5 separate regions of the Homo sapiens genome follow, and all the other regions are linked to region 5. Evidence: promoter capture Hi-C in human tissues and cell types (Jung and others, 2019). All regions are on one chromosome and are shown on one strand. Each heading gives the region's core, a stretch centred on a gene start or on the middle of the fragment in contact. The rest is flanking DNA. Distances are from core to core; before and after follow the strand shown. Region 1 has its middle 590 kb from the start of LRFN5. Region 2 has its middle 580 kb from the start of LRFN5. Region 3 overlaps LOC105370467 (a long non-coding RNA gene). Region 4 has its middle 620 kb from the start of LRFN5. Region 5 holds the start of LRFN5 (leucine rich repeat and fibronectin type III domain containing 5).

Region 1 (5,553 bases), core at 1,752-4,251, 590 kb after region 5:
TGGGATCACGTCATAAGTGAGGTATTATTTTTATAATTCTTTGAAATATTTTTTGAGTTTTTGATAATAGCTTATAGGATATTTAGAATAAATCATTTTTATAATCATTTGTGAAATTATGATTTATTAATCATACCTGAGATACCATAGCCCTCTCCTAGTTTGGGTCACCTTGAAGGTTACATTGGTTTTGGCTGAATAAACCTATGAGAACCACAGATGCTACAGTTACATTAGCTGTGTTTCTTCAACTTAATTTGCTTTTTAAATCCACAAAATGCTTTCAGCTGGTTGTTGCAACCTTATTCTCTCTATAATTAGAATGTTACTAGCCTTAAAAGATATATCTGAAGAGAGCTAGTGTTTTTTTTTTTTTTTTCCTGAAACTTTAAGCATACCAGCCTTGACAAATTTTCTCTGAGATTTTTCTCTAGAGACTTAGAATCTGTGGCTTTTAAAAGATTTAAATTAGGCACAGGGCACCAGCAGCAGTAGCACTGCAAGATTTTGCCTATTCTCAGTCTTTAACTAATTGCCCCATTTAAATGGCAGCCAGCTTCTAAAAAATAATCAATAGTTGTGTTACAGGAAAGGGGTCCCAATCCACATCCCGAGAGTTCTTGGATCTCATGCAAGAAAGAATTCAGAGCTAGTCCGCAGTGCTAAGTGAAAGCAAGTTTATTAAGAAAGTAAAGGAATAAAGTAATGGCTACTCCCAAGGGCAGGGTGCTGGTTGCTAATTTTTATGGTTATTTCTTGATGATATGCTAAACAAGGGGTGAATTATTCATGTCTCCCCTTTTTAGACAGTATAGGGAAACTACTTGACATTGCCATGTCATTTGTAATCTGTTATGGTACTGGTGGGACTGTAGCAGTGAGGACGACCAGAGGTCACTCTTGTGGTCATTTTGGTTTTGGTGGTTTTTGGCTGCCTCCTTCACTGCAACCTGTTTTATCAGCAAGGTCTTCACGACCTGTATTTTGTGCTGACCTCCTATTTCATCCTGTGACTTAGAATGCCTTAACCATCTCAGAATGCAGCCCAGTAGGTTTCAGCCTCATTTTACCCAACTCCTATTTAAGATGGAGTTGCTGTGGTTCACATGCCTCTGACAGTTGTTTTGCTCAGACGTTGGTTGAATTGTAAAAACTTTACTTTGTATATCACTGTGCCGTTCAACAAAAGATGATATTCTTTTAACCACTTTTTTTTTTTTTTCAAAACTCTAATTGTACAGCCTGCCAAGTCTGGTGATATTTGGTCTCAAACAAATATCATATTTAATCATCTTCTGTAATCAACTTAATGGTTTCAAGAAACAAAACAGCTGCCTTGCAGGATTTCTAAATGCCAGGCATGCATGTCTCACCGTCAATAACACATTATTGCTTTGAATGGGAGCGAAATTCAAGACAATTGATGCCTCAGCTGCTGAAGAAGCAGAGGAAACATCAGGTGATAGAAAGTTGCTTGCTCAGTAAAATTACTCTATGATGAGGGGTTCAACCATGAGAAATTCACTCTAGTAGTCCTGCCTCAGTGTACTAAACAATGCTGTGCGATGACTGATTTCAGATGAAACAGATTTAAAAGGCTTTGGATTGCAGATCTTCTAAGTTTACATTTTTATTGTACTGGATGTCTAATCCTGTAATGCTGATTTGTATCTCAGTGATAGTTTAAAAACATGTCTACGAATTCTTTGGCACCCCTTACATCAAAAGGTAGAAACAGTGACCCTTGGCTTCAACCTGGGTGAGCTTTTTTGACAGCTTCAGCAAATAGAATACAGTGGAAGTGAAGCTTTGTGATTTCTAAGAATAGGTTAGAAAAGGCCATTTAGGGCCAGGCACAGTGATTCATGCCTGTAACCCCAACACTTTGGGAGGCCTAGGCGGTTGGATCGCTGGGGTCTGGATTTCATGGCCAACATGGTGAAACCCTGTCTTTACTAAAAATACAAAATAAAATTATATGGGTGTAGTGGCGCACACCTGTAATCCCAGCTACTCGGGAAGCTGAGACAGGAGAATCGCTTGAACCCAGGAGGCTAAGACTGCAGTGAGCCAAGATCCTGCCATTGCACCATTGCACTCCAGTCTGGGCAACAGAGCAAGACTCTGTCTCCAAAAAAAAAAAAAAAAAAAAAGGAAAAAAAAGAAAAAGCCAGTTAGGCAACTTTTGCTGGTCTCTCTTAGAATACTTGATCTGGGAGCCTAGGGCCCCAGTGTAGGATATCCAGCTACCTGGAGGCTCTATGGAGAGACCACAGGGTGAGACCACACAGAGATAGAAAGGTAATAGAGGAGCCGTAGTAGTACTTGTCCTCGGCTGTTTGATTTTCCCAGGCGATATATTAGAAATATAAGTAGCAAAGTTTCAAGATGGTCTCAACTCCAGCCACCTTCATGAGCCAACCAGAGTGAGAATTGCCTAGCTGTGCCCCATCAGCCTACAGAATTATGAACAAAATAAATGATTATGATTAAGCCAATAATTTGAGATGCATTTTTTCATGGCAAGAGAAATTGGGAATGTTTCATTATATACTTATTAGTAGGTTTATAAGCAAAAAAATTTGGTTGCCTAAACACATCTAATTATTATTCTTTAATAGAGATTTCTCACACCTTATACCAAAATAATTTCTTATGTGATTTTTTGACTCTACATCTCTTTTATATAGCTACAGATATTATGTTAAGCCTAAATTGAAGAACTGAATTTCAAATGCCAGAAAAGAAATATGAATGATATAAACTACCTTTAAACTAATAAAAGTTTTACAGATGAAATGCAATTTGGCAGGTGTTTTGCTAATCTTTTTCTCCTTTGTTGAATGTGAGATACACTAAGACATTTGGTCATTGGATCAACTATGAATTTTTATGGGTCTCAATAATTGTTTATGTGATTTTTAGGTAGTTAAAACTCTTAGTGGTGTTTGAAGAATAGGACCTTGCTTGTTTTTAAATTTGTTCTTTCCACAGATTCAATGTATTATATAATTTTAAAGTTCTTAAGATCGGAAAGGCATTTTACAAACCTTAGGATAACAAATAGGGAGGCTCTAGAATATTAGTTTTAAAATACTCTTTAAGAAATTCACCTTAACACACTTATTTTCATTTTTAAATACAATCTTCTAATATGCACACATATGTATCAATTTTTAATTGATATTAAAATAATATTGACTATGATTTATATATTAGAAAATACATGATTATATTTTAATGTATATTTATATTTCATCTAGTTGGACTACTCTTTAAAGTTTCATTCTAAGAAAGATTAAGAAAGCCTACTTGCTTCTCAGTGTGAAGTAAACTTATGGCGTACATAGTGCAGGAATTAAAGTCCCTCGGATTTGTAGTCTCTTTCTTAAATCCAAGTTTGGTCTCTACCTTCCTTTCCATTCTTCTTTTGAACAACGTTAACTTAAGCCATCTTTACAAATCTTTTTTTTTTTAATTCTGTTTTACATGGTGGAACTTTTTAATAGTTAGATAAGATAGGCTAAATTAAAGTCGGGGAAAAAAATCTAAACATCCCAATAGTGTTACACAAAAAGATGTATTTATCTTTTATATTACAGTGTCACACACAGTGTCACTAGGGGAGCTCTATTTATTTCAAGCCCTCAATGCCCCAGGCTGACAGAGCACGACCATATACAGCTTTGCTGATTGTCCTGACAAAGAGAAGTGAGAACTCTGGATGATCTCATGTTGATAATTAAATACTCAGCATAGATATATGTCATGTCTCCTTATTGGCTTATATGAGTTAAAAAGTTCAATTCTATCACCAGAAAGACAGCAAGTATAAATCTACCATATTCCTCAAAACCTTTGGTTAATGATATTAATAATGACCATAGGGAAAAAAAAGGTTAAAACAATGCAGTGGTAAATTTTCAATGTTTTAATTTCATAAATGTAAATCATAGAGTTAATTCCACAGACATGTATTGAATATATGTAACACTCCAAGTAGAATGTTAAATATTGTCTAATGTAAATGAATAAGACATTACTCCTCAGATTACCCACAGTATGATAGCATGGACACACTGAAAACAGTACTTTTAAAATGGTATTTGAGTAGGTAGCTAGTCAGGCATGAGCAGGGCAGGAAAGGGCTACCCCCACCCTACCCCACCAGAAATGTCAGGTGACTATCAGGCAGTGGTCTAGCAGTTGTTACACTGCCTCTCTAAAATAATAATTGGTCACAGCTGGTGCAGAGAAAGGCGGTCCCCCAATAGATAGAAATACCTGAAACTGGTGATCAGGGGCTTCCCAATAAGATCTCAAGAGCTGGGCAAGTGGGCTCAAGCATGCGCATTAAGAAGCAAAATGGCAGAGTTTAACTGGTATATGACTTTCCAGGGACATTCGACTGCTAAGGGAAGAACGCCACAAGTGAGCATGCATACAACTCCAGTGAACAGGCCGTGCAGGCTCACTTTCCAAGTGCTAGCAGGCCACTGTGCATGTGGACAGCCCACCCCAAGGGAAAAATCGGGGAGAAGGGATGCAAGACCCCAGAAGTGTGCCAACATATAAACCCCAAGTCAAAAAATGAAACTGCACACTTGATGTCTCAAGCCACCCGTCAGCCCGTCAGCCCTCTTCCAATTGTACTTTACTTTCATTCCCGCTCTAAAGCCTTCTAATAAGCTTTCACTCCTGTTCTAAAACTTGCCTGGTTCTCTTCTTCTGCTTTACGCCCCCTGGTCAAATTCTTTCTTCTGAAGAGGCAAGAATGGAAGTTGTTGCAGACCCATGTGGATTTACTGCCAGTAACAGTAACTGTGTGGCAAAGCTGTGCAGAATGAATAATGGGAGCAAAGAGGAGGGAAACACTAATTCTGGCTAGAAGCAAAGATGGTTCTCCAGTTATTCTAGAAATCTTTCACTTCAAAGATGAGTTGTATTATTACTCTTTAAAAAGTGCCATATTTTAAAAAGCAGTCCTCACAATTTACAAAATAATAATCTTGTAAAATTTAAGTTCTATTTTTAAAACATTTTCACAAACCTGTTGATACTATTTCTTGTCTCAATTTCAATGACATATTAAGAAACTTCTATTCAATTTATTATTAAAGATACAAAAATTGCAGCATGCCAAATTATATGTTACAGTTTAAAAACACAAATTTAAAAGACATCACTGGGCACAAAACATATACACTTTAAAAAGGAGTGAAAAATATAAATTGATAATGTAACTGAGGACCCCAATTTTTCTGAAATAGTTTATTTTTTATTGTTTTCTCTTCTTTTCTTCTTTCCCCTTCTCCCTTGCTCCACCTTTCCTACTTAGCCCTTTAGAAATGCAAATATAAGGCTGAGTGAGGTGGCTCATGCTTGTAATCCTAGCACCTTGGGAGGCGGAGGAGGGTGGTTCACCTGAGGCCAGGAGTTCAAGACCTGCCTGGCCAACAGAGTGAAACCCATCTCTACTAAAAATGCAAAAATTAGCTAGGTGTGGTTGTGTGACCCTGTAATCCCAGCTACTCAGGTGGCTGAGGTGGGAAA
Region 2 (5,606 bases), core at 1,354-3,853, 580 kb after region 5:
TATGATCAAAAAAATGAAAAGCTATAATAAGTATTGGAGAAGATGTGGAGAAAAGGGAACCCTTATCTTTGAGTGGCAACTCTTGTAGTGGGAATGTAAATTGGTATAGAGATTATATATGGAAACAGTATGGAGGCTTCTCAGAAAACCAAAAATAGAACTTCAGTATGATCCCACAATGCTACTTCTGTGTATATGCTCATAAGGCATGAAATTACTATGTTGAAAAGATATTTGCACACTCATACTTATTGTAACATGATTCACAATAGCCAAAATATAGAATCAACCTAAGTGTCCATCAAAGGATAAATGGATAAAGAAAACATGGTATATAAACCCTATGGAATTCCATTCAGATTTAAAGAGAGGGAAATTTTGTGATTTGCAACAACATGGCTGAACTTAGAGGACATACTAAGTGAAATAAGCCAGGCATAATAAAACAAATACCACAGGATTTAACTTATATGTGGAATCTAAAAAAGTCAGACTCATAGAAGTAGAAAAGAGAATGGTAGTTACCTGAGACTGATGGAAATGAGTAAAGGGAATGGGGCAATGTTGGTCAAAGGATTCCAAGTTTCAGTTAGAAAGGAGGAATAAATTTTTGAGATCTACTGCATAGCAGGGTGGTTATAGTGAATGTGTGTTTCAAAGTTGCTGAAAGAGTATATTTCAAATGTCTCATGACAAAAGATGAGTCGGTAGACATATTCGTTAGCTTAATTCAATTATTCCACATTCTATGCATATAGCTAGACAGCACACAGTACCCCATAAAAATGTGTAATTTTGATTTGTCAATTTAAAATAATTTTTATAAAAAATAGTTCCGAATATATCATTGAGCAAGTATACAACAATTTTTGCACTTTGGTAGCTCATATTCTAGCAAGGGAGACACAAAAATCACAACCATTATAAGAAAGTAAATTACACAGTTTATTGGCTAAATGCTGTGAGGAAAAGAAGAAAAACAATAAAAGTAGTAGTGTAAAAAGGAATCTGTAATGTTAGGAAAAAGAGTTTTGATTTTAAGTAGGGTTTAAGTGGACCTCATAGATAAAGGAACAGTTGAACAATTACTTGAAGAATTAGAATTAATTAATGTTGTCAATATCTAAGAGAAGTGCATTCCAGGAAGAGATAAGAGCTACTGAAAAGTCCCTAGGTTGCAAACGTGACGACAAGTTTGAAGAACTTCAGGGATTCAGTAGGACAAAAGTGGAGTGATCAAGAGAAAATAAGTGAAGAAATGCAATCAGAAAGGTTGGAGGCAGGGAGAGAGGTTATATGAGGGCATTGTCAGCCATTATACACACTCTGGTTTTTTAAAAGAGGAGCCGTTTGGGTTTTGAGCAGAGGAGATACATTATATGATTTATTTTTTAGAGGGTCACCCCAGCTACTGTGTGCTGTGAATAAACTACAGAGGGCAAAGGTAAAGTAGAGATTCCTTAAATGGCTATTATGGTAACCTAATCTAGATACTAGGATTGCTTAGGCCAGGTTGGAATTTGGATACATTTGGAAAGTACAGAGGAATAACTTGAAATAGCAGGTATGGAGTATGAAAGAAATTAAAAGGAAAGGATAATTACTAATTTGGATGTCTAGGCAACAGAAAGAATAGAGTTGCCATCAACTGAGATGAGAAAACTGGAGTGTGGTGCAAGTTTGCGTGGAAAGGTTCAGTCTTGAGCATGTCATGTTAAGATGTCTCCTAAGCATCCAAATAAAAATGTAGCTTACACACATTCTCCAGCTGAGGTTATTAATTTGCAGTTAAAACATTAGTCATTTGATTATTTGTATAATTCCAAGGACTGACTGACATTCAGCTGCATGGATTTTGCACTGTCTTGCTTGGAGTCTATTAAAAGGATATTGGTGGTTGATGGCTGGGGCTGAAATTTCCAAGATAGCTTTACACAGATGTCTGGTGTCTTGGTAGGAATGGCTAGAGGGCTACACTGCTGGGGCTGCTGAGTTTCTCTCTCTTTGTATAGCTTTTTCATGTAGTTTAGTCAGCCTCTCCAGCACAGTAACTAGACCACTTGTATGATGGCTTAGAGCCCCAGAAAAATAAACATGTAAATTACCAGGCCTTGTTAAGGCTTAGGACTATAACTGGCACAGTTTCCTTCCACTGCATGTGTTGAATTAAGCAAGTCCAAATTCAGTGTGAGAAGGATCTCCAAAAGGCATAATAATAAAGGATGTGATTTTCGAGGGGGGGCATTCTTGGAGATTAATTACCACTGGCACATTACATTTGAGATGTCTATTAGGCATTTCAAGAATGATGTCGGCCGGGCGCGGTGGCTCACGCCTGTAATCCCAGCACTTTGGGAGGCCGAGGCGGGCGGATCACGAGGTCAGGAGATCGAGACCATCCCAGCTAAAACGGTGAAACCCCGTCTCTACTAAAAATACAAAAAATTAGCCGGGCGTAGTGGCGGGCGCCTGTAGTCCCAGCTACTTGGGAGGCTGAGGCGGGAGAATGGCGTGAACCCGGGAGGCGGAGCTTGCAGTGAGCCGAGATCCCGCCACTGCACTCCAGCCTGGGCGACAGAGCGAGACTCCGTCTCAAAAAAAAAAAAAAAAAAAAAAAAAAGAATGATGTCAAGTAGGCAGTGAAATGTATGAGTTAGAATATTCATAGTATTTTCTGTCTTAAAGCTATAAATTCTAGAAATTTTGTTATTTTATTCAGAGAACATCACCAAAAATAGATTTACAGGAGAATCAGAGGGTAAAATTGTTTTCTACAAGTTTTTAATAAATCTTGGTATACTTGAGACATTTCTTGATAGATCAGTAGAAAATATGTAGGTAGGTATAGATTATATATCAGTAGATAATGTGTGTTTTAGTCATATGGCTATCTGGTGCTCACTGCATTACCTTATCTTGTGATTTTTCTGTAATACCTGGTTGATAAAATTGGGCATGAAAAATACATGAACATTTGATATAATTGTCCAGGAAAATTGGACATATAAATTAGCTGAATGTACAGTGTGGCCTTGAGGTAAACTAAATGAATAAAAATATTCTCCTCTAATATAGTTCAGAGGTATCTGAGAAAAAACATTAATATATTGTCAAATATCTTGAGGGGTTGCACCATCCACTTTGTTAGCTTTAACTAGATACAAAGGCTCAGAGTAAGTGGCCTTAGGAAGGTTCAGTAAAGATATTTCTAATATTTTGTTGAGCCCCCAGGTCTCACTCTCTACTCTGCAAATGTTAATAGTACAGCAAAACCCAAGTAGAGTCAGACGTGTTTGTTACCCGTTCTAGTTCAAGATTGCTGTGCTTTCTCAACCTTACTCAATCTGAAATATTTAGTAAAGTCAATGAATAAGTATAAACAAGAAGTTAAATTTTCTCTTATATTTTTAGTTAGGGGATTAGACTGAGAATGACATGATAATGACCAAGTGTAGATGTGGCAGTGGGAGAAGACAGGTCTTCTGCTCACAAGAAGATACTCTCTATTGCACTCGCATCCCATCCTCCCTCTTTCTTTGCTTCAGTCAAGGAAAAAGAAAACTAGATAAAGGATACCTGGAACAGAAATGCCAGCCCTTCTTTCATTTGGATTTGCTCTCCTTTGTTATAAAAATAATACTCTAGATAGAACCATGACTTTGATATTGGTTTAATATAAGCAGGTAAGTCAGTTTCTTAGTCTATGAAGTACTTCAGATATTTGGCCAAAATCCGGCTAGGCAAAAGGAGTCCTTAAAGTCCCTGGGATACAACTGACTCATCAGCAAATGGGGCTGGAGTTTATACCAAGTTATTTTGGAAAAGAGAACATATGTTTGCGTGCGGATTTTCTCTTCCTCTCTCCATGAGAAAAGTGGATTAAACAGTAGGTGCTGTTTAAGAGTTAAAGCATTCAGCAATGTGGGTACTCAGAAAAAAAATTCTATCTTAGTAATCTTGACAACTGCTTCAAATTTTGATCAATATAGATAGTTCTTTATGAGTAGAAACAAGCCATTTCAATTGCATCTTTTCTGTGAAATATAAACATGAAACAGAATATAGTAGCTTTCCCTCATCCATGGGACATACATTCCAAGACCCCCAGCAGATGCCTGAAGCCTAGAATAGTACTGAACCCTGTATATAGTACCTTTGTTCCCATACATACATACCTATGATAAAGTTTAATTTATAAATTAGTCACAGTAATAGATTAACACCAATAACTAATAATAAAATAGAACTATAACATATACCGTAATAAAAGTTATGTGAATGTGGTCTCTCAAAATATCTTATTGTACTATACTCATCTATCTCAGTGCCATGATTGACTATAGGTAACTGAAACTACAAAAAGTAACACCACAGACAAGGGGAGACTAACATAGCCACGCTTCTTATGTACACCTCTGTATGCTGTCAAAATTATACCGAGTAACTTGATTGGTTGCCTGTGAAGCTTGATATGCACCACTGAGTTGGGAAGAATTAAGCTCAAGGGGAATGTGTGTTTATTTGATGAAATTCTCTTTGTACTTTGCAATCCTTATAGATTTACAACAAACTTGGCCTCTTGAAAGTAATCTGTGCATATCTCTTTCTTATGACACTTATTTTTTCCCCTCCTTTGGTTGGAGATGTTTTTAATACAGCATTTTTTTTTTGTTTCTTTATTCATTCTTCAATGAGAAGAAATCAGCCCTGCTATGCTCTCTATAGATGGGTGAGATTGTGTGTTTACGTGTATCCTACTGTTTTGGTGTATTTGAAGTATAAATTCATATGCACAGCTCTAGTTCAAATTTCCAATGATATGAATGAAATCTAACACTCTTAGCATGAATTGATGTAGAAGTTTTTCTGTATGTTTACACCCAATGATTTTCCTCACAGAAAGCAGTTAACTACCTCTGTTAACTGTTCATTTTTTTCCACGGAGTTTTCATTTCTGAAGATTTATGACCATTTGAAAATGGGATTTTTGGAGGAAGTCAGGAAATACTGGATGGGAAGAGCATGCATATAACCTCACAGTATACTAAATGCATATACCATAGGTTCAACTACTGATTTTCTTATTGATTCCTCATCACAATGATTAACAGTGTTTGTGGTTGGGAAATTGAAAAACTATTTATAATTTTACCTTCTTGTGAAAAAATGAAGCATTGATATAAAACCTCCTATTTTTATAAACTCTGCTCCAGTTCAGGCATTGGTTGATTGTAGGTAAAAGGTTTAGATTTTTGTGTCATTTAAATATATACATATATAATATCTTCATACATATTTTTGTAGAAATTTGGAAAATCTTATGTCCAGAGCTGTTCTTCAAGCTGTTTGAATTACAGATTAACTCTTGGCTTCTTTAATTATTTTGGATTTCATTCCTGCCCTTCACCCTGATTTATATGACTTTACAATTTGACCTGCTTTCTGTTCATTTTATAGCTCTCTTCTCTAAAAATCCAACAACTCATTTATGACTAGGGAACAATAATTGTAACCACAGTTCTGGGAATGTAATGTTTAGCTTCTATCCCTGTTTATAGAATAGTCTATCAATCACCTTCCAGTATCACTGCCAACATTTATTTGCC
Region 3 (5,213 bases), core at 2,055-4,554, 740 kb before region 5:
ATAATAGCCCTCACCCTACCAGTTAGGGAGCCAATGTGGGGATTCTGCCAGCTGCTAAGTATGTCTATACCAACTATGCATTCTGTGGCAAATGACCACAGGATGAGTCTGGGAACACACTGGAGCCAATGTAAATCAGACCTGAGATCAAACTCCATTAATTGCCTAACCTCCATAAGCCGCTACTTTAACTGCAGGACCATAATGATGTTTTGGGTTCCTTAGAATCAATGTCAGCTCAGAGCCCGTGTCTAGTGGTTTCCAAAAGGTCTTATCATTCCCCTAACCTCAGTACACATTTACCCTGCCAAAAGGCCAAAGCATTAGTCCATTCTCATGCTGCTATGAATTAATATCTGTGTGTGTAATTTATATATATGTGCATATATAATATATATTCTCTCTATATATAATATATATGTTTTATATATATATATATATATATAAATAAGTTTAATTGACTCAGAGTTCTTCATGGATGGGGAAGCCTCACGAAACTTAGACAATCATGGCAGAAGGAGAAGCAAACACATCCTTCTTCACATGAAGGTGGGAAGGAGAATTGCCAAGCAAAGCAGGGAAAAGCCCCTTTTCATCAGATCTCGTGAGAACTCAGTCACTATCATGAGAACAACATGAGGGAACCACACCCATGATCTAATAACCTCCCCTGAGGTCCCTTTCCCAATACTTGGGGATTACATTTCAGATTACAATTCAAGATGAGATTCGGTTGGGGACACAGAGCCAGATCATATCATTGTGAACTAATGATTTAAATTTAAGACCTCAAACTATAAGAGTCCTGAAAGACAACTTAGGAAATACCTTATCGACACTGGCCTTGGCAAAAAAATTTTGGCCAAGTCCCTAAAAGCAATGACAACACAAATAGAAAAGTGGGACTTAATTAAACTAAACAGCTCCTGCAAAGCAAAAGTAATAATCAACAGAGCAAACAGACAATCTACAGAATAGGGGAAGTTATTCACAAACTGTATGTGACACAGATCTAACATCCGGAATCTTTACGGAACTTAAATCAACAAGTAAAAAACAAGCCCATTAAAACTGGGCAAAGGACATCAACAGACACTTCTCAAAAGCAGACGTAGAAAGTAGTGTCTATCTCTTCTAAGGATTTTTTTTTTAATTCGAAAACAAAAGTGTATTCAGCCAAATTGTTGGTTTAAGGTTACCTTTTGGCTGAACTATTCACATGAAGCAATTGAATTCTAGTCTACTCTATAAAAATATATGCTTCTTAAAGAAAGATAGTGTGTCAATAAAAAATGTGAAAAATTATATCAATACAAAGGCAATCCCTGTCACATGTAAAGCCTATTTTTATGTCACAAACACAATTTTTTCTGAGAATAGCTTATCATTTCTATGTTTTCCTCAATATTATTTTAAAAAAAAAGCAAGTTGTGAATGTAAGCAATGATTTGAAAGCAAGGTTAACATAATACTCTTCAACATTCCTGTCATCTTCCAATTAAAACTAATAGGATAATGTATGATGACAGTACAAGTCAATATTAATGATGCAATTAACTTTCTAAATTGAAAATATAAAACTTGTGACAAGGTGAAGCATTTTTGCTTGGTTTATTTTTGTTTTGCCTTTTACTGTTTCCATTTAAGCAACTAAATATTTGTGGATAGCAGCCAAAACAAGTTTATCTTCTATTAAATTTCATTTTTTAGAATTTCTAGGGTCATAAGTGGTTTCCAGTGTGCAGAGAAGTGATTATAAAGTTACAGAAATGTTTTAATCTATTTAGCTAAGGGTTCTTTGAAATTACAAATCATGTAAAGCAGATTACATTAGCCATCATTTGCAAAGGGTTTACTTTGTATAATGTTATTTTTTACATATGTGGCAAACTTATTCGATGATGCTTCAATTGCTTAAAATATTTTTGGGAATATAGCTTCTGAAACTTTCTCCAAAGATATGATTAAACCACAGAATATGACTATATCTTCACACCCTTTCTGGACAAAATTATTATTCCTAACATTAGTTTTATGGTTTCTAAAAAATTGAATATATCTCTAAATAATAGCAAATCCTTTCCTAAAGATAATGTAGCTATTAAAATTGAAACTATTGATTCATATTTTACCAATTGGTAGAAAAAAATTCTCAAAAATAATTTCAAATAATAATTGTATTATATGTTTCTTCCAGTTGATTTTATAAGTTGTCATATGCTAAGAAGTATTTAAAAATTGAAATATTTATGTCTTTTGTTTTTTTGTATTTAATTCAACTTCTTAAAGTAATTCTGAAAATAACTGAATAAAGTAATTCTGAAAATAACTGAAAATAACTTCTGAAAATAATTGCTTTTTCACTTTAAGTAATTTTGTCACCTTTTTTCAGAAAAACATATCAAATAATATATAACAATAGTCTGACATGTAAAAATAATTTTACAAATGGTGTCACTGATATTATTAAATTTCTTAGAAAATATATATTATTAAATAATTCTCTTTTAATAAAAAAATCACTAAGTATGTTTTTCTTCTCTCAATTGTGTATCTTTTCATCTAATTAACTAGTTGAATAAAATACACTTGACTGAACAATAAGGGTTTGAACTGCAAGGGTCCACTTACCTGCAGATTTTTTTCAGTCAATTTCTCCTACCTTCCCTTTTACTTTCTCTATTTAATTTGCCTCTGCAACCTCTGAGACAATAGGACAATAAGACCCTTCCTCTTCGTCCTCAGCCTACTCAACATGAAGATGATGAGAATGAAATCTTACAGGTGATGCAAATGATGATCTATTTTCACTAGTGAATAATGAGTTTATTTTATCTTCCTTATTTTTTTAATAACATTTTATTTTCTCTAGCTCACTTTTTTGTAAGAATACAGTACATAATACATATAAAATACAAAATATGTATTAATTGACTTTATGTTATCAATAAGGTGTCTGGTTAACAGTTAGCTTTTAGTAGTTAAAATTTGGGGGAATCATGTATTATATGTGGAGTTTTGACTACATGGTGAGGGGAGTTGGTGCTTTTCACCCCTGCATTATTCAAGGGTCTATGTACTATACAACCCTAATTCAATAACACTTTCTGGCAGAACCTTGTCCTAAAAATAACTCTGGCTTATTTAAGTATCCTTTACGCATGATAAATATTTAAAATCATGCCAAGGACATGTTCTGACTTCCTAACAATTTAAGTTCTGGAGTCAGACTACCCGCGTTTCAGTCTAATTCTAATTATTGTTACCTTAGAAACATTTTACCTGTCTCCTTCAGTAAACATCTGGGCCATGGTGATAGTAATAATGATACATATCTTATGATGTTGGTCTGGGAATTAAATTAAAAATTTCATCCAACTACTTAGCACTTTATATGTCATTTAGAAATTTTATAGCTTTTTTCATGATTTTCTGCCCAGGACCACATGTTCAGGTGATACAAATTATTTTAAACTTGGTCTTACCAAAAATGGTTATTAACAAAAGTAAATATCAAATTCCTGCAACTAAATAAGCTTTCTCAAAAGCAAATAAAAGACTTTAAATTCTCTTTTTCTTAATCTTTGTTCTATAGCTTTTGTGTATTAACTTTGAAAGATGCAAAGCATCACTTCATCTCTTTGTTTCTGCCTCATGAACACTGACTTCCTGAATACAGAAAAATAATTTAATTTGGTGCTGATTGCAGATTTTCTACCAATTTATTTTTCTGATGCATCATGCTTGTTTGATTATAAGCACATCTTTATTTTCTGTTTGCAAATTTTATAGTGTAATTTTAGAAGTAGCCTACATCAGGCATCTCAAAATTATGAATGGCTTTTAAGCTAGTACATCGAAGCCATTTCACTTTTTTTTTCTTCTATTTATTCATTTACTAAACCACTAGAGGGAAATAAAGCACATCATCCTTTTCCATAGTGAATGCCAATGATTGGGTTACTAGACCTTATCAAGGCTCTGACTTTCATATTTATTCTAGCAGCTATACTCTTCTTCTCTCACAGTCAAAGTAAAGGCAAGATAATATTCCTTCAATTACATAGTTTTCAGTATGCTAATAACCTTTAATCTCAGCTACATTGTTGAGAGCTAAAACAAGAATAAAGAAACTCTGGGCATAGACTTATTTCCAGATGTCTGTGTTGGCAAATGAAGAAGACATCTCATATAATGTGCCTTGAAATTGTTTCAAATATTTTAAGCAAAAAATAATGTATATGTCTACTAATTTACATAAATTACTCTAGAACATAAATATGAAATGTGAAATATAATAATAATAGCAAAATAATAACAATTTATATAAATGAAAGGCCAAACTGGTATTAGGTTTTACTTCCCCTTACTTATCTCTTCCTTTAAAAGAAAGATTGAAAGAGAGATGATTCAGTGCTTGTCAGATAAGGCAGGTCTTGAGAAATTACTTTTCACACTAAAATAAGATGAAAATATGTCATAATAATGGGAATCATTACATTTCTTTTTCAGTTTTGCATGTGTAACTTTTGAGTAGGGTACAATTAAAGAAATGAAAATGGTTAATAAATAAATATACCACACTGGAGTGTATTTTATAAAATTTCTTTTCTTTTTATAATATATGTTTTTTATAGAAACTTTGAATAAAGATATCACATTTTAAGAATTCCTAAGTAGCCATTGGAGGTACTTAAGCATGTTAAAAGGCTAATGGGAATTGTGTATTTGCCCTTATTTAGTACACATATACTTAAGTTAGAAACATATTAATTTAGCTTGCTGCTCCCCTTATCTAATCCCCCAACCCCCTATGTTCAACTCAATTATATATATCCCATATGCTTTATCATTTGTATTTGGAGATATATGTTGTTGTCAGTTTTGAATTATAAATGACTTTTTTTGTTGTAAATTCTACCAATACGTATTACAAGTGTTACTTAAGACAGTTGGCAAAGAGTTAGTTTTAATTTTTTTGTCCATCCATATCACTATTACCTTCCTGTAAAATTACTGTAATACAATTAACAGTGTAAGGATAATATTTCCAAAAGATTCTGGTATTCTGATCATAACCGTGATTTTGTAGTATTAAGTAAGATTGTAATTTTTTCGTGGATTTTCAAAATATTTAAATTTTTAATTCGAACACATTTCAAACATAAAATAACAAAATAATTTTACATATAATCATATGTTCTTTTTTGTAA
Region 4 (5,719 bases), core at 1,052-3,551, 620 kb after region 5:
GGTCCCCAAACTTTAATCTGCATATGGATCACCTGGGTATCTTATAAAAATAATAAACTAGAGCTGTCTAATTTTACAGGTAAAGCTATGCCAAGAATTCACTGTTTTTATTATAATGCATTTGATTTTAGCACACTGGTGACAAATGGCTCAAAGAAGAAAAAAAATATATTGTAAAGAAACACACACAGCAAGCCTCAGGAAATGTATGATCCAGGGCAACTGTGAGGGGTTCAGCCTAAGAAATTCTTAGACCTTCACTGTGGTATTTTGTCACTAATCAGAACTTATTTACAATTTACTAAATCAGTATGCTTGTGCTATCCAGTTCAACATCCCAAATGAAGTAACTATATTGTTTGTTGACTGGCAATTAAATAATTTTCCATGGGCCAGATGGTCACATTTGAGACAATAAGCTATGATTATGGAAAGGGGGTTCACGAGGTATGACATTAATCTCAGATCCATTCTTTTAATCAAGCACACATAGGTTTCAATTCTTAAAGGATAAATTATGGGCAGAAGGAGCAAAACAAAATGCATTTCATATAAATTTTCTTCTTGTTGTTTTGTTTGGTTTTGTTTTGTTTTCTAGTAGCAACTTTGTTTAGCATTCCGTAGGTTGCTACAGTAAAAATGAGCATGGTGCAGATTGCTATGGCAGGAAACTACTATAAAGCAGACTAACCTGGCAGTGTGGTTTTGGGCACATGATCTCAGCTAAAACTATGGCACTGAGAGTCAATATGGAGCTGAAGTTAATTGAGAAGACTAGAATCCTTTTGGAGAAAATAGAGTAATCCCAAAATTCCTACAAGGTTTCCAGGTAGCTTCATGGGAATCTCATGATAAGATAAAAGAGAATAAATTATAGCACATTAAAACTTCCCCCCAAATTTTAGAGTTAACTAATCCACTTCATTGAGCCCTAAACTTATTATGTACTATTAGTTTTGAATTTCAACTTTTATTTTAGATATAAGGGCCACAGGTGTAGGTTTGTTACATAGGTATACTGCACCCAGGTAGTAAGAATAGTACTCAATAGGTAGCTTTTCAGCCCATGCCCCACATCATCCCTCCTGCCACTGGTGGTCCATAGTGTCTGTTGTTTCCAGGTTTATGTTCATATGTGCTCAATCTTTAGCTCCCACTTATAAGTGAGAACATGCAATATTTAGTTTTATGTTCCTGTGTTCACTTAAAATTATGGCCTTCAGCTCCATCCATGTTGCTGCAAAGGATACGATTTCATTCTTTTTTATGACTGAATAGTATTCCATTGTGTATAAATATCACATTTTCTTTATCCAACAGACCATTACTAGGCATCTAGGTTGATTCCATGTCTTTGCTATTGTGAATAGCACAGTAAGAAGCATATGAGTTCATGTGCCTTTTGGGTATAATGATCTATGTTCCTTTGGGTCAAATTGGTGGCTCTGTTTTAATTTTTTTGAGAAACCTCCTAACTGCTTTCCACAGTGGCTAAACTAATTTATACTCCCACAAACCATGTGTAAGTTTTCCTTTTCCTCTGCAGCCTCACCAGCATTTGTTGTTTTTTAACTTTTTAATAATAGCCATTTTGACTGGTGTGAGATAGTATCTCATTGTGCTTTTGATTTGCATTTCTCTGCTGATTATTGATGATGAGCATTTTTTTCATGTTTGTTGACCACTTGTAGGTCTTCTTTTAAGAAGTGTCTGTTCATGTCCTTTGCCCATTTTTTAAGTGAGGTTATTTGTTTTTTGCTTGTTCACTTAAGTTGCTTACAGATTCTGCCTATTAGATCTTTGTCAGATGCATATGTGGTGAGTATTTTGTCCTATTCTGTAAGTTGTCTGTTCACTCTCAGTTTCTTTTGCTGTGCAGAAGCCCTTTAGTTAGGTTTCAATTGTCAATTTTTGATTTTGTTGCAATTGTTTCTGGGGACTTAGCCAAAAATTCTTTCCCAAGGTTAATGTCCAGAATGGTATTTCCTAGGTAGGATTTTTGCATATGGTGAATGGTAGGGGTCCAGTTTCATTCTTCTGCATATGGCTAGGCCATTATCCCAACACCCCTGGGAAAGAGAGTCCTTTCCCCGTTGCTTGTTTTTCTCAGCCTTGTAGTTGATCAGATGGTTTTAAATGTGTGGCTTTATTTTTGAGATTTTTATTCTGTTTTGCTGGTCTGTGTGTCTGTTTTTATACCAGTACCATGCTGTTTTGGTTAATACAGCCTTATATTAAAGCTATATTAGTTTGAACATATAGTTTGAAATTGGGTAGTTTGATGCCTCTGGCTTTGTTCTTCTTGTTTACAGTTGCTTGGGCTATTTGACCTCATTTTTGGTCCCCTATGAATTTTAGAGTAGCTTTTTCTAATTCTGTGAAGAATGATTTTGGTAATTTGAAGGAATAATGTTAAATTTGTTTGTGGTGATTGTAATGAGATTGTGTTTTTTATTTAACTTTCAGCCTCGACATTGTTGGTGTATAAAAATGCTACTGATTTTTGTATGTTGATTTTGTATCCTGAAACTTTCCTGAATTCATTTTTTGGTTCCAGTAGCCTTTTGGTGGAGTCTTTATAGAGTTTTCTAGGTACAGACTCATCAGTGAAGAGAGATGGTTTGACTTCTTATTTTCCTATTTGTATGATTTTTATTTATTTCTCTTGATTGATTGCTCTGGCTGGGACTTCTGGTACTATGTTGAATAGGAATGGTGAGAGTGAGCATCCTTGTTTTGTTCTAGTTCTCAAGGGCAATGGTTTTAGCTTTTGCCCATGAAGTGTGACATTAGCTATTGGTTTGTCTAAGATTGTTCTTATTATTTTCAAGTATTTTCCCTCAGTGCCTATTGAGGGTTGTTGGGGTTCTTTGTGTTTTTTGTTTTTGTTTTTGTTGTTTTTTTGTTTGTTTGTTTTAAAAAAAAACCATGAAGGTATATTGGATTTTATAGAAGACTTTTTCTATGTCTATTTAGATGATCATACAGTTTTTGGTTTTGATTCTGTTTATATGGTGAGTCACATTTGTTGGTGTGCGCATGTCGAACTAGCCTCTCATTCCAGAAATAAAGCCTGCTTGATGGTGTTGGATAAGCTTTTTGATGTGCTATTAGATTAGATTCTGGTAGAATTCAACTTTGAATCTATCTGGTCAAGGTGGCTGAAGTGTGCTGGAGGTATGAGCAAAGCAGTCTGGTTCTTTGCCCCTTCCTAGTGGCAATGACAGAGGGCCTCTTGGTTGTTTCTTGGAAACTCTTCTCCAGAGAAATGCAGAGCCGTGGCTGGTCAGAGTGATAAGCCACGGTTAAGGCAGCTGCGCTGTGAGCCCAAACCAGGATACCCTGTCTGGTTAAAAGCAGGCGAGGTGAGGGCTGGAGAGGAAGACTGGCCTTCTCTCTGTAGGACAGTTTCAGTGTGTTGCAGGTGGATGAAAGCAATCAGTCTCTTTGTTCCCTGCCTAGCCTGGGGTGAGCAAGGGTGGATACCACAGAGGTGACAATGGCAGAGGGCCTGTAGATTGTCTCTGGGAGCTCCACCCCAGAGAAACGCAGAGCTGTCACCAATTGAAGTGATCAGGTGGGGGTGGGTCGACCGCACTGGAGACCCCAGCTGGGAGGCCCTGCCCTGTGAGGCACAGCAGGGGAAGGGATCCATGTGGAAAACAGTCTGCCCACCTTTTCATACTATAGCTGCAGGGTTTTGGAGGCCCGTGACGGTTCTCTGACTCTTTGTTACCTAGCCTGGGTGAGGGCAGCAGGGGTGGACACCACAGCAGCAGCAGTCATAGGAAGCCTGTGAGTTACCTGTGGGAGGTCTGTCCCAGAGAAATACAGGGCATGACCACCAGAGTGCTTAGACAGGGGTGGGTGGCTGTTCTGGGGGCCCAAGCCAGTGGGCCTTGCCTGTAAGGAGCAGGGGAAGTGGGGCCTCCAGCCTGTCAGCTCCTCAGCACCATGCATGTGGCCCTTATCCTAGGGGCATGTGAGAGAGACTGGCCTCGCTTGTTGGTAGAGCTATGGCAGCTGGAGCTGGGGTGCTCAGGGATCCAAGGCCCGTGGGGCTCCACATGGGCTTGAGCAACGGTTCTGCCTGGACTCTCCAGGCTGTTCTCCACATCAGTCTGGAGGGTGGGGTGGGATGGTGGGGTGATGGCAGTAGGGGTGTCAGAGGGATCTGGTTGCTAAGGTCCATGGCAGAAGTGTGGGTCCCAGGGGCTCTCGTTCACTCACTCTTTCCCCATGGTAGGGAACCACCCCTTGCTCTATGTCAATCTCCCATGGGCAGCGATCCTGCCCCCGCCATCTCTACTCTACTCTCAGTGGGTCACTCTTGCTTCTTGAATGGTTCACTTGAGCTAGTATTTACTTGCCCCTCAGTCTCCTCTCCATGAGAGCGATGTGCACTAGTTGCTTCTAGTCAGCCATCTTGGCTCTTCTCCCCGACATTCTGTATTCTCATTACACCCCAAGCTACGCTAGCCTGTCTGTGAATAGATTTGAATAGTAAAACCTTAAATTAAAGAACAGGTTGTAATTCATGTACAGCAGAGTTGTTTCTATCATAGAAAAGCTAGGAAGCAGAAATTAGAACAAAATTTTAAATTCATAAAAGGAAATTTTTCCTCTTTTTTCATGTGATTCATTTGCTGTTGCTTTAAATTGTAGTGAATTTTTAATACTACATTTGAACATGGCTTAGGAGAGCCCTTTTAAGGGGAAGAAGAATGGTTAATATTTCACATGAGGTATTATTTTAACTGCGGTATATTAACCACATTTGTGAGTAAGTAAGAGAAATGAACCAAGAAGCAAGTGTTATTTTATCCCCCATCCCAAGTTCTACTATCCCTACTTGATATATGTGGAGTTGCATGGCAGCCTTTTTTACAAGAGGATAAGCTGTTGGACATACATAACAGATGGGGTCATAACTTCCGAGTTCCATAAACATGGTCTCCACTCCTGGAGGCAATAATGTACTACGATGCTTTTTCAATGTGTTTATAGTAGGTGCATTGCTGGCATTTTACAAGTTATTGAGTGTCAGTGCGGCAATAACTTGTAATGTAGTTTTCAACATAGCTTCATGTGTTTTTAGGGGTGAGGTAAAATAGGTAAAAAATAGCTTACTAAATTATTATTTTATCCTGTCGGCTAGTCCAAGAGTGTTATGCTGTTTCATTTTAAAGTGCATTTGCAGTTGTTTTAGTATCATTATTAATATATTTTGTCCTCTGTAGGATCATCTTGTCAGTGTGGTTTTCAGTTATTTCTGGTACATAGTATCCCACTATAACATGCTCATCATACTTCACCCAAGATGGAGGGCAACCTGCTGCTCTCTAAAATCCAGTTAGCCTCATTGGAAACGGAGTATCCCCAGAAGACAAGAAAAATATGATTCTAGTGCAGCATATCAAAAATATTTCTAGAGGAAAAGTTTTATTTTAAGGTCTTTCTTTGAGAGTTATATTCATCCATTGAATAAGACTCAATGTCAAATATCTAGCAAGTGTATTAAGCAGTTAATACATGTCAATTTAGGTGTTTTCATCATTTGAGTTTCTAGAAGTTGATTTCAGGAAACAATGATGATGTATTGATAAATGAGATCAAATTACCGTGGGTCTATTGATGGGGGAGGTAAATGGTACGGAAGCAGATTGTTGTTATTTTATCTAAAGATTTAGTTTCAAAAATTCTTTACACAATCTCCACT
Region 5 (5,546 bases), core at 1,884-4,383:
AATCTTTTGATATTCATCACTTTAACTGAAAAACATTCATATCTCCATTAATTACCTGAAATTAGCAAAATACTCTTTCTTTCCCCAAATCTTGGATTATTCTGGGAAGATAGGCAGACCAACACTTATCACCATTGGTCCTCAGAAAAATGAACTGGGAGAACAAGAAAATTGACATTATTTTAAAAGTGCTTTGACATAGGCAGTAAATCAGGGGACACATTAACGAAGTAAGGCAGATATACTATAGAGGTAAAGAGTTAAATCTAAATTATTTATGAAAAAAATTACTTCTTTTTAAATGTTAATGTTTAAAAGAACCCTATTCTAGAAGGAACTTGTTTGAACTTTTAAAAGTATGCCAACCTTAGAGTGGCTAATAACAATAGTTTTATGAGCAAACTAGAAATTGTTCTTGCAAACATACTAGTTTTTGACCTGCTAGGGAATAAAATTTAAAGAAAAAAAAAAAACTTTGCTAGCTCTGACATCCACTGGGAAATAATATGCTGGTCTCTCTCCCGAGGTCTTGCCGTTTTCTAGCAACAATCATGAAACAAAATAGAACCTTTCTTCTTCCTCTCTCTTTGCAAATTCTAATCAGCTTGTGTAGGAGGGAAAAGAGCAAATGCTGAACCGGGAGGGTGAAAGTTATCTGGTTTTAGCAGAGATTATTGAGATAAAATGAGGAAAGTAGAGGAAAGCACTTTCAAATATAATGCATGATACGCAGGAAGGCTACAGGAAACGGAAAGAAGTGTTTTCCTGGGCCTGGTAGGGCTTGAAACATGAAAGAACAATGAAAAGTTAAGCATTAAGCATTATTACTCCCAGCATTAAGGAAACGTGATTTCATCTTTCTCAAGCTGAAAACACACACACACACACACACACACACACACACACACAGTTTCTGAAACACACACACACACAAATTCCAGTATATATTTGAACTTTGTTTTGTCCCAACCCTTGACTTCTTACAGCTAGGTCAGTGTGTCCCCTCCCTACCTCAGTCTGGACACCATAAAAAAGAAAACAAGTTATTCAGCCCAGCGATGCAAGGTCTTCGGGTTTCTCATTCAACATTTTATACTTTGATCCCTGAGGTAACGGAAAATCCTCATCGCCTAGACTTTCATTGGTTCCTATCAGCTCAGCTGGAAAGGGTGGCAAGTGGGACAATCCTGAAGAAAAAAGAGTCACCCCCACGTCCTAAAGTACTTGGAAGTGCTCGCTGGGATCTGCCTGTACTCCAGGTTGGTGCAACTCCACCGCCCTCCAGTGAAGTCCCAGAAGCGATCAAGTTTAAAGTGAAAGGGGGATGGAAGCATTTTTTCTCCCTATGCCTTCGGAGTCTGTGGCTTCAGTTTGCTGCAGGTTCTCTCCGTGGACTTCTCAGAAACCTCAACTTTCCACTTCGAGGGACAGAAAGCTACAAGGAAAACGCTGATGGTTTTGGTGGAGATTCTCCTGGACTTCAGTGGTGTCCTCTGGTACATCTGTCCGCGGTGTCCCTTTGGTTTATTTCTGTGGTCTTCCTGCGCAGTCCCTCAGCGGCTCGGAGTTTGGCCTTCCAGCTCTCCAACTCAGATCCTGAGCCTCCTAAGCTCCCGCGGAGACCCTGAAGTCCCGGATCTGGCGCCGCTCGCCGACCTGGAGGGAGGCTGCACCGCTGAAGTGCAGTCTCGGAGCTGCGCTCCTCTGGAACAAAGCAGCCAGACGTGGCTTGAGTGGATTCCTAAGCCAAGGATTGGATCCGGAGTACCAGGGGCAGAGAGGGGGAGCAGAGGAAAGAAAGGAGATGTGAGGAGTTTCCACCTAAAGCACTTCACTCCTCGTGTTCTTCCCCGACAGAGATAGCTGTGTGGTTCTTCCTTACGCGTGGGTGCAGGTGTGCGCGCTTGGGGTGAGCCCATGGTTGTGCTCGAGTATACGGGCGCCTGTGCACCTCCAGGGCAATGGTAAAGCCTGGCAGAGCTCTTTTTGGAACAAAATGAAGGAGCTCCATATCCACGGAGGCCACCCGTATGGGCCTTTGCCAAGTAGGGCAGAAGAAGCCCTTGTTAGCCAGCTTCCCTTTGCAACTTCCTACTCTTCCTTTGGGTACAGACTGGTGTCTGGGCTAGCTAGGATCACAGCTGAGAGCGAAGGTGCTCTCAGTGTCCGAAGACCACGTGCTGGTGAACCCACAATGAGAAGCGAAAGGGTTTCAGGACTCTAGCAGAAAGGAAGAGCAAGATTTCACTCAGGGTTTCTTAGAAGAAAGAGTTAACTTTGCTCACTGGCTTTTCCAGGATGGAGGGAGTGGGGATAGGGTCGGGGAGAGAAGCATTGGGAGTCTTGTCGGAGTCTCAAGCAAAACCAGGCGAGGGCTCCGGGCAGATCCATTCCCGCAGGGCCCTGTCTAACCTCCTTTCCAGTCGCACCTCTTTCCTGCTTTAGACCCTGCGTCTGTGCCGGTGACCTTAGAGACTAGGTCTGGCTTATGAAGACTGTTGGGCTCCCTTTCTGCCCTTCACATAGTAAAATGTGACCAACTGCAGTATTCGTAATGTCTGATGCTGAGCTGAGTTGATTCCCAAATATAAATGTTCTTTTCAGAATCCGCTCCCATCTGATTAGTAAGCAAATCACCACCCACAACTAAGGGGACAGCGGAAGCCAGCCTCAGATGACTGAAACCCCCAAGTCAGTAGCTCTCCTCAAAATTTCCGGCGGGTTATTATAGATAATGACTTTTCCCACCGCCCTAAGCAGCCGAAGCTTGACTCAGTGATGATTCTCTCTATCCCGTAACTGCGAGGAAGTGGGCGATCAGCAAATTGCCCTTTTGCAGGAGGCTGGGGACGCCCCTGGAAGTTCGCTTTCATTCTCCAGGTTTTCTGCCTTTTCCCTTCCCCCTTCCTGCAACGCCCCCGCGCCTCCTCAGCCTGGGGATTTCCTGGCGCTTCGCCGGCCCTCTCCGCAACCCCCTGATAAATCGGTTCAGAACCAGTCTGGCTGGGAGGCCCGAGGGCTGACAGCAGCGGAGCGGCCCCGGCCGGGGTCTCACGGACTCTCGGGGTCTGGCCGACACGGCCGCTCCCGTCACTGCAGCGCGGGCTGAGCTCACGGCCGCGCGCCCGCCGCCGCCGCCGCCGCCGCCTTCATGCTGCAGCGCAGGGCTCAGTTCCACGCGGCCAGGAGGCCGCCGTTGCCCACACGCGACGCTTTGGGAAGCCCAGCTCCCGGGTCCGCCCCGGCCGCGGCCGCAGCCCCGGACCTCGGCTGCTTGCCTCGCGCCTGAACTGCGGACTCGCCCCAGCGCGGTGGCCAGCGGGCGGGGCGCTGTGTTCCGCGGCGCGCAGGGAGGCGGTGAGCGTGTGCAGAGCTGCCCGAACGGAGGACTATGTATGTGTGTGCGCGTGTTTGCGTGTGTTTGAGCGTGTTTTTCCTTCTTCCCTTGAGGATGTGAATTGTTTAGCAGCTGGCTGCTCCCTTAGGATCCTTGACTTTGGGGAGCTCTGGCTGTGAACACAGCCCACCCATATAATCCATTTTGCACGGTCCGTTATATCAGAAAAAAAAAGCGCAACTGGACGGGGGTGGGGCAGACCAACGAAACCTAGACAGACACACACACACTCAGAGGAGAGAGGAAGAATTGAAAGACTTGAGAAGACTTTGATAACCTCCCTGCTGGCCCTTCTGTGTTCCGGAAAGATCCTGGATGTTGGCTACCTTTTCAAGTCATCTTGGCATGTCTCTAGTGTTTTGTAAGCCGCTTTCCAGCTAGCTGCGTGTGTGTGTGCGCGCGCGTGTGTACGCGCGCGCCTATCTGATGCATTTGACTGTCTTTTATCCAACTGCCCAGAAGCAAATGTGTTAACTCGGCGATGCCCCTTCATGCCCGGGTTCTTGCAGAGCTCTGAGGACGCCCAGACCCATTTTCCTGGCTGGATTTGGAGCGGCTGCTGGGCTGTGGACCCAGGTGTGTGGATCGCTTTACCCAGAAGCTTGGAAAGCGCCAATATTAACCTGCTTCCAGGTACATCACAAGGTCAAGAGAGTGTCTTGCAGCCCTCTTGTTTCCGTGTATCTACACCTTCTTCTCTTGGCCAGAAGGATATTTACGTTTTGGTTCACAGCATTTGAAGCCAAAAGTTCAGCCCTTCGAACTGGTTTGCTATACAAAACAAAACAAAACAAATAAGGTAATGAGGATTGCTTATTAAACTGCTTAACAAAATCCCCGACTCTTCCTCAGCCCTTTCTCGGCTCCCTCCTCCCCACCAAAATGTCACCAGCTCTTGAATTACGTGGATTCGGGTTGGAGGAGAACTTGAAGGAAACGTGATTAAAGGGCTATGCGAGAACGCTCTCTTTGCTGCCCGCGGTCCGGTGGGCTTCGAAGCCAATCGTGAGAAGGACCGGTTCCCTCCGTGCTGCTTCCTCCCCGTGCAGTGCTGGGTGTGCGTGTGCGAGTGTGAGTGCAAGTGCGCGCGCGCCCGGGTGCGAGTGTGTGTGAGTGTGAGCGTGTGTCTGTGTGTGCGTGCGCGGCCGCCCTGCCTCTGCCCGCTCCCCGGGCGCGGAGCCGCGGGTTTCATGGGGCGATTGCAGCGATTCCCCCACCCAGAGCGACCTGCGGGCAGCGGCGGCAGTGGCAGGAGCCGCCTTTCCGATTCCCTACGATGCGGGTGCTGAGCTATGGCAAAGGGCAGCGAAGTGACGAGCGAGACCCGCGTACGACTGTGAAAGCCACCTGGAGCCACCTTGCCGGGATTGTACCTGCAGGCAGAAAGTCTTCCTACGACCGTCTTTTCCCTTAGAGGCACCAGGTAACAAACCAACGATTACTCGCCTCACCCAATTTCCTTTTGATCTTGTTTCTAGTGTCTTATCTGCATTGCAGGCTACTTTACTTATTAATGTTTTGAAAATCATTGGGAAGGGTTGGGTATCCAAGGGCGCCTGCTCTGTGATTTTGTAATACGATTTCTAGTAGGTGAAATATAAATCTATACCTAAGCACTTAATCTAGTAGTGAAAGCTTTGAGAATATGGATGTGCTCCACCCTGAGGATATTTTTTGAGAGCTAGGCGTGTGGAACCTGTCTGAAGATGCCAGAGATCAAAATTCTGTGTTTCCTTCAGGCTGTGGTTGCCACGGACCATTTGGTACCCAACCCTTTCCAGATTGTGAAGTGTGAGTGGGTGTTTGGTTTCCACCCATCATTTAAACCAAAGATCTTTTCTACCCTTTTCTACCTCTGGTGCCAGGTTGTTTTCCTTTCCTTGTTGTGGAGGAGCTTGCCAGATCTTTTTAGTAGTTGTAAATTACGCATCTGGAGACTTTGACTCGAAATGGAGTTTTCTTGGAACTTGGTTTGCATGAAAGGGAATACATATTGTCACGGCTGTGTGTCTTGAGATATGGTGTTTAACTGCCAGGACGTGCTTTTATGTAGCAGAATAAATCCATGAAAGAAGTCATTTTTATATCTAGCAGAACCAGGCTAAAACGATAGCCACCACCCAACATTCTCTCCAGCTGTATTGTCCCC

The links. The method cuts DNA at HindIII sites, captures the fragments that hold promoters and counts their contacts. A contact is called where the count stands out against the background at its distance.
Region 1: a fragment that was not itself captured here is called in contact with the fragment with the promoter of LRFN5 in region 5 in 1 of the 25 tissues and cell types used here (bladder).
Region 2: a contact is called between a fragment that was not itself captured here and the fragment with the promoter of LRFN5 in region 5, in 1 of the 25 tissues and cell types used here (dorsolateral prefrontal cortex).
Region 3: a fragment that was not itself captured here is called in contact with the fragment with the promoter of LRFN5 in region 5 in 2 of the 25 tissues and cell types used here (mesendoderm cells and thymus).
Region 4: a contact is called between a fragment that was not itself captured here and the fragment with the promoter of LRFN5 in region 5, in 1 of the 25 tissues and cell types used here (dorsolateral prefrontal cortex).

Annotation. Positions count from the first base shown.
Region 1 is chr14:42,197,477-42,203,029 of GRCh38, forward strand. No RefSeq gene overlaps it. Among named protein-coding and RNA genes, the nearest start is that of LRFN5, 590 kb to the left of the region's middle. The HindIII fragment of the contact is 5,425 bases long and covers 290-5,553 here.
Region 2 is chr14:42,179,425-42,185,030 of GRCh38, forward strand. No RefSeq gene overlaps it. Among named protein-coding and RNA genes, the nearest start is that of LRFN5, 580 kb to the left of the region's middle. The HindIII fragment of the contact is 5,830 bases long and covers 1-5,518 here.
Region 3 is chr14:40,866,538-40,871,750 of GRCh38, forward strand. The region is part of intron 7 of LOC105370467 (a long non-coding RNA gene); the gene reads left to right. Among named protein-coding and RNA genes, the nearest start is that of LINC02315, 86 kb to the right of the region's middle. The HindIII fragment of the contact is 4,394 bases long and covers 1,108-5,213 here.
Region 4 is chr14:42,225,364-42,231,082 of GRCh38, forward strand. No RefSeq gene overlaps it. Among named protein-coding and RNA genes, the nearest start is that of LRFN5, 620 kb to the left of the region's middle. The HindIII fragment of the contact is 8,023 bases long and covers 1-5,719 here.
Region 5 is chr14:41,603,743-41,609,288 of GRCh38, forward strand. It overlaps LRFN5 (leucine rich repeat and fibronectin type III domain containing 5), which reads left to right and starts at 3,134. Exons shown (of 6, transcript NM_152447.5): 1 at 3,134-4,820. The HindIII fragment of the contact is 3,229 bases long and covers 1,287-4,515 here.